2 separate regions of the Homo sapiens genome follow, and region 2 is linked to region 1. Evidence: promoter capture Hi-C in human tissues and cell types (Jung and others, 2019). All regions are on one chromosome and are shown on one strand. The core of a region is centred on a gene start or on the middle of the fragment in contact, and the rest is flanking DNA. Distances in the headings are between cores, read along the strand shown.

Evidence for each region. Contacts are between HindIII fragments. The study calls those that stand out against the background at their distance.
Region 2: a contact is called between a fragment that was not itself captured here and the fragment with the promoter of MAPK4 in region 1, in 1 of the 25 tissues and cell types used here (lymphoblastoid cells).

The regions. Positions count from the first base shown.
Region 1 is chr18:50,558,235-50,561,723 of GRCh38, forward strand. MAPK4 (mitogen-activated protein kinase 4) reads left to right here and starts at 1,853. Exons shown (of 6, transcript NM_002747.4): 1 at 1,853-2,009. The HindIII fragment of the contact is 20,188 bases long and covers 1-3,489 here.
Region 2 is chr18:52,430,623-52,434,054 of GRCh38, forward strand. The region is part of intron 1 of DCC (DCC netrin 1 receptor); the gene reads left to right. Among named protein-coding and RNA genes, the nearest start is that of DCC, 92 kb to the left of the region's middle. The HindIII fragment of the contact is 4,113 bases long and covers 1-3,432 here.

The sequences.
Region 1 (3,489 bases), core at 603-3,102:
TCCCGCGATTTGGAGGATGGCCATTCACTATGTATGAACCACTCACTCATGCTCATCACACAGAGAAAATTACATTTTCCCAGTTGCCAAATGGAAGAGATAAATTATCTCACGTGGACAAGCACATTGCTCTCAAGAGCAGCTTCCAGACCTAAGATAAACAGATTAAAAAAAAAAAACAAAAACACGCTGGAGGGGGACTCTGAGCTTTCCAGGTGTTGATGGGGGTCAGTCTCTTCATTCGGACTCGCCAGATCCTCACTTTGCAGTTAGTGGGCTTAAAGTGGCGGGACATTTGCCCTTCTGTTTCTTTTGGATTAAATGAGCAGCCTTGGGGCCTCTTATTCTTCCTTCATAGAAGAGATGTTATAAAAATGAATAAATCAACACAAAACATTTCATATTTATGCCTACTTGCTGAATTGATACTACTTGTAATGAAAATCAAGGAAGCAAAATGTTAAAATGTTCTCTTTGGGGAAGACACATTGGAATGTCTTACCACAGATATACACACACTCGCTTGTTACACACTCCTTCCTTATCCCTAACTATTCTCTGAGGTTAATGAAGGTCCTGATAACTGCAGTCTCTAACTTAGCATATCATCCTAAACCTACTACCTGCACACATAGGAGTCGCAGCGCAACTATGTACTAATGGCAGCCAACACTCATTACCCTTCATACCACCATCACTGTGCAAACCCTTAGTGCATTTTCCAATATGATCCCACAATCCTTCATTTTTATGTTTTGCCCACGCTAAAATTCGACAGCGAATTCTTGCAACAATTATTAAGCGTCTGGAATTGTATTAGGGTCTGGGGGTAGAGGTGGGGGACGAAGCGGGAATAACTGCAGTACACAGCAGACCCTATGAAAGTGCCAAAACGCAGGTCTCACTCGGAAGGCTTTGGGAGTTGGGAGAGGAGAAGGCTCATGGGCAGCTAAAGCCACCAGTGACCTCATTATGCAATATTTAGGTTATCAGACTTTTCTATGCCTAGAAAAGCAGCGCCTCAACCATTCCAACGGGACGCACCGCGTTCAGTGACGACCCTCATCGGTGCCCACAGCTCTGGGCTCGCTGAAGGCACCACAGAAGCACCAGTTATTACCAGTGTTAGGGTCCAGTGGCTTCTTCTGTCCCTTTCCTCTGGATCCCAAAGTGTTGGTTCTCTTTTGTTAGTTTTATTCCGGTCATGCCAATGAGCACAGATTCACAGCCCAGGCGGCCCGCTCGGAATCCCAGGCCGGCTGGGGACCGGTGCACTTGGGCTCCGCGCCCCCTCGACCCTCGGCCCAGTGCCCCTTCCCGCGCGCGCGGGTCTCCCCGGTTCCAGAGCCCACCGGTCCCCGCCGGCTCCTTCTCCCCACCCACCCTCCCACCGGGCCCCCGGCGGCTGCAGCCGCGCGGGGCTGGCGGGGCGGCGACCGGGCTCAGGCAGATCCCCGCTTCCCGCCTTCTCGGCGCCCCCTCCCTCCCGGACGGAGCCCGAGGATCCCCCACCCACGGCGGGCGTGAGGAAGGGCTTCTGAGTGACTGGAGCTCTACCGCGTGTGCCCCGGGAAGGCCAGGCTACCCGGGACGGGGCTCGGCTCCCCAGGTGAGCTCGTCTCCGCGGGACTGGGTCCGGGAAGGCCCCAGGACCGCGCGGCTGAGCGGCCTGGAGGCTGCGGGAGGGCAGAGCAGGGCGCGCGGGAGACTGCCGCCCCCGGGCGCCCAGGGCCCGGCTCCCCAGCGCCACCGCCGCAGCAGGTGGGGGCCCAGTGGGCGGGGGCGGGGCCCGGCTCTGGGCGGAGCCGAGGCGGCGGCGGCGCAGGCTGGGGCCGGGGCCGGGGCGGGAGCCGGAGCCCGAGCTGGAGCAGCGAGCCGGGCTGTCGGGGCGACCGCGGGAGCTCGCCGTGCGCCGTGGCTGGGACCGGCCTGGCCGAGCGCGCCGGCGCCGCGGCCGCAGACAAAGGGCGGCTCGCGCCCGGGCCGCCACGCTCTCGGGCTCTGCCTCGGTAAGTGGCTCCCCTCCGCTGGCTTTCTCCTCCCGCCGCCTGCGCCTCTCGGAGTTCGGCGGGCTCCGGAGAAGCGGGGAAGAGATGAGACTTCCCCGCCCGCACTGCCTCCCCACCTTACCCTAACAATAAGCCCCCCAGGCCAAGCCACTGCCAAACTAGCGAGTTTCCGAGCGGCGGGGGTCTCCCGCGGGACCCGCCCGGCTGCCCTGGGTGAGCTCCTCGCCTGCAGACCGCGCGCCGGTGCTGTCCTGGACCCGTTTGGGATGGGAGGTTGCCGCTGGGCTCCTCGCGTTGTGTTTAGGGGAGGAGGACGCAGGGGCCGGGCGCCGCTAGGGGACCCCACCCCCGGGGACAGTCCGGAGCGCTTGGGGTCGCCGAGGGGCAGTTCACACTGCGAGTTCAGATTCGGATCGCAGTCCCGATTATCCTCCCCTCCAGCCTCTCCCTTTCTCGTTGAAGGGTTAATACAGCGTCCTCTCCCCTCGCCACCCGACAGAGGCGCCTACACTGGCGGTAGGTAGCCCCTGGGAGAGGGGGAGTGGGGGGACCCCGCCGCTTTCGCCGCTGGGCGACCCAGAGCCCCAGCCTGCCGGAGAGGGCAGCGGCTCGGGTTTGACATCCCAGCTGGGTCCCGGGCCGGCTCCCTGAGCCTCCTCCCGGGTTGCTCTCTATCAGGAAAGCAATCGGAAGTCAGGCCGGCTTTTGCTTTTGTTCTGCCAGCTACTCTACGGAATCGTAGGTGAAGCCGGGGTGGGCGGATGCCCCGGGAGGGGGCTGTGGCGGGAGTTCCAGGTGCGTCCCCGAAATGACCATTGGAGGCGGCGGCTGTTTCCCGCCCCTGGGTGGGGAATGGATTCCGATCGCTAATCGATACCCTGGAGCCAGCAGTGGGTCAGCAGCGTCCCGACAGAGCGCAGCGGCCGCGTACTGTCACGCGCCTCTCCAGCACTCTCGAAAGCACTACCTCGAGACGTGCATTTCCATTCATGGATCTGTGCCTGGGGGTTGATTAATGTCACCCCTGCCTGGGTTGAGGAGTGTCCACAACTGCTCAGTAGCCATTTACTGGGAGGTTACTGTGTGCAAGGCAGCTATCTTAAATAACCTTAATGTAAAATATACTTATTGAGCACCTACTATGTGAAAAGCAGGTATACTGCAGACTTTTCAATTGAATGGATATGTATTGAGCACCTACCCCGTGCGAAGGTGAAGCGTCATGACGTTCTCAATGTAACAGATATTTATTGAGTACCTACTATGTTCAAGATAGCTATGCTATGACCTTATTGTAATATGTATTTACTGAGCACCTACTAAATACTAAAGGCTTTTTTGCTGAAGGGTTGCCCAGTGTACTTTTGGGGTACGGATAGAAACAAGGGAGAGAAAATATAATATCTTCTGAACCTCGAGTCTTCAACTCCTTTAGTGACCTGCGTTTTAACCTTTCCAAACCGCTTGTGTGGTGTATGAA
Region 2 (3,432 bases), core at 364-2,863, 1.9 Mb after region 1:
CTTACATACATACAAATGACAAAGAGGAGCTGTGCAAAACCGCTGTGGAATAAGCCAGTTTATGTTTGTAGTGTACTAGTTATATGGCATTTCCAATAGGGAATTTCCTATTGAAGTGAAACACAGTTGTTTAGGAAGAAATAAATGCTGAAATAATGCACATAGTGAATTCAGGGATGGAGAAAACACTCTCAAATAATTTTTTTAACTAAGAAAATTCCAGGCAGCACCTAAAAGCATGATTGCTTTCACTAGACACTTTAAATTACTGTCTATAAAACTTCTTGATCCTCTTTTAATGCCCAAACCTTTTAGAGGAATTTACAAACTCTTTATTTTTGGCTTCTCAGAATGAGTGGTTTAGGTTCACCCCACAAAACTGGAGGGATTAGCCCATCAAAAGATGGACACATATGGAAAGGTACTTCCACTTGCCCTTAATACCCTTCACAGTGATCCTCAAAGTGTGGTTCTTGGACCAGCAGTACCATCATCACCAGAGAACTTGTTAGAAATGTAAATCCTTGGACACTCACCCAAATATACTGAATCAAGAATGCTGGAGTTGGGACCCAGCAAGCTGCACTTTTACAAGTCCTCTAGGTGATTTGGAGGCTTGCTACATTTGTGAATCACTGCTCTAGTCCCGGAGGTAAAGATTGATGAAAAAAAATAAGAAAAGCAATAATAATAAAGAAAGAAGAGAACATTTAGAAAAAAAAAGATCAGCATTCACTTTCTCTTTGAATAAGTGAATGAACATTCCTTGGGGGTGTAATAGTTAGGCTCCTATCCCTTTCAATACAACATATATTTGTCGAGAATCCAATTAGTGCCACGGACTGTGCTAAGTGTAGCATATTCAAAAGGGGAAAAATTCTGTGGATTTTCTGTGTTCTCAAAAGAAGAAGAAAAAAATGAAGAAAAAGAAAAAAGTATTGTTCGTCTTAAAGGTAAATAATATGTTGTGCTTTTGAAGAATTAGATGGGCTTGGCTGTTTATGGTTCCAATGCCAGATGAAATGCTCAGTGAACACCCCTGCAACAAGTACAGTGAAGGGTCGTAGCTCCACTCAGCCTGGCCATGCATCCTAAATTCCGAGGCCACAAATGTTCCAGAGACACTAGCCTTTTTTCACGAGGCATAATCACCACTTATCAAGTGTCTCACCAATAAGCTTCATGTAACAGAAATGTCAAGCCCCATTTGATTCATCTTGCACTGCCCATTCTCTCTGAAGGGGATGGCTTTCAGGCCCTCCATCCATCTCGCCTGATGATCCCTTGGAGCTCAACTAGAGAAATCATCCCTCAGACTCTGACACCTTTGAAACCCAAGAGCATTTCAGTAAAGCATCGGAAATGTCAGAACTCCCTCTGCTGATTCTTCTTCCTCCTATTTTATCTCTAGCACACACTTTGCTGCACTGTTTGCCACTTTTATCTTCTTTCCCTGATGGCTTTTATATATTTTTTGGTCTTGTTCAAGCTTTGAAATCACTGCTGCTCCTTTTTGTCGCCCCTCATCACTAGCTCCCTGGGTTTCATTGACCACTGCTTATCTCCACCGTGTTGCACGTGTCTTGTTGGTTATTTAATAATGCATGGCTCTCATGATCAGGAGTGGAGAGGCTCAGGTCTCAGGTCTGGCTACTGAAACTGGAGGTTTTTCCTGCTGACTTGGGTCTCCTTTGATGTACGAGGACATTTGCAGCTCAGCGGCGGATTGGTAGCTTCTTTGATGTGCTCTTCTTATTCTGATTTGATGTATGTTATATTCCTTTTATGTTCAAGAGGGACCAAATAAAGGAATGTCCCTCCTGCTTCTCACATCTAATTTTTGCCTAAGCACCCTCTGTTGCTCTTCGTGCAAGGGAGTGGTTCTTTTGACAGTGTATAATATAATTTTATTAAAGAAAAACAAATAATATCAGACAGGATGAATGTCATCATTTATGAGGTCTTAGGCAGCTCTTTATCTCTCTCCTTTGCTTCATGTTGCATTTGCATAAATGGTTCTTTAATTCAAGGAGAATTGGCTGCGGATAAATACAAGTCAAACTTGAAAGGAGTTTAATACTTGATAATCACTTATGGACATTGCGATTAAATACACTATCACTCTTTTATGTTTAAGCTACATAGCCTAAACTGAGTACTACGAGTGGATTTATCTTGAAGCCTGCAGTGTGCAGGAGTGCCGCCTGAGCTCACCTGTGGCTTATACTGGCCCAGATATTGCCTTCTCTGGAGAGTTGATAGAGGGAAATTGGCAAACGGTAATTCTGTCCTGTGCTTCCATCTTTCAGTTTCCCTCTGCACTCTAACATCTGGCCTTTCATGGGGACATAAGCAAATAAATAAAACAACAAAGAATCTGAAGAGTGTCACAAATTTATTTATTTTTTACTAATCTTTATTAGAACATCAAATGAGATTATTCTTGTTAATGAAGTTTATGGATGATGTGAGCATTATATTCATTTTTAATATCCCTGAAATTATTTAACCAGGTATTTGAGAGCTGTATATTTAGGAAACTAAATAGAAAATCTATTAATTAGGGTTAATTTGCGATCAGTAATATTTTAAAATTAAACCCACTTGTGTTCATTGAAAACTTTGGGTGGAAGGGGTTTCAATTTCAAAATCATGTTTGAATTTATTAATTTATATTTGTTTACAGTACTCACATTGCTTTCATATCCATTCGTTCATTTGAATATCATTTGGGTGAGAAAGACAGAATGGTTATTATTAGTGCTATATTACAGATGAGGTAATGAAGGCTCAAAGATCAGTATATTCTGGGACTAGAGTTTTGAGCTAATTCAGTGCTCTTTATAATACATCAAGTCCAATTTTGTACCTCTTGCAATACACAACAATTTGGCAAATAATGAATTGTTTTTTATATACACTAAAAATTGGTTAGTCATCATGACAGAAACACATAATGGGAACCATGTATGAATTCTAACACTTACATTAGAAGTATGTATTTGTTGTAGTTGATGAAAAAACAAAGTTATAAAGATATTGTAGTATACATCAAGAGGTTATTGGTAATCTATTCTTTAAATGTAACTCTGGATTCCCCTTTTTAAATCTGATTATTTCATTTTGTTATCAATAATAATTAACGCTTTTATACATGGGAAGTCCTATTTTTGTCTTATTCAACACTATGAATCAAGTAGGTTTCTTGCAAATTTTAGGATTCATCTTTTAATAATAATTACATGCAGAGACTCAAGTGTTGTCTGGTTTCCCTGTGATATAGACCATAAGAGTTGAACCTAAGAATGTCAGTCATAAGACCATGGTGGTTAAAAAAATCACACATGTAGGTCCAAGGGAAAAAAGTGCCATGTAAGCAGTAGTTCCTAATCAAATGTGTGGTGTAAAGCCATTTCAATTATTGATTAGCAG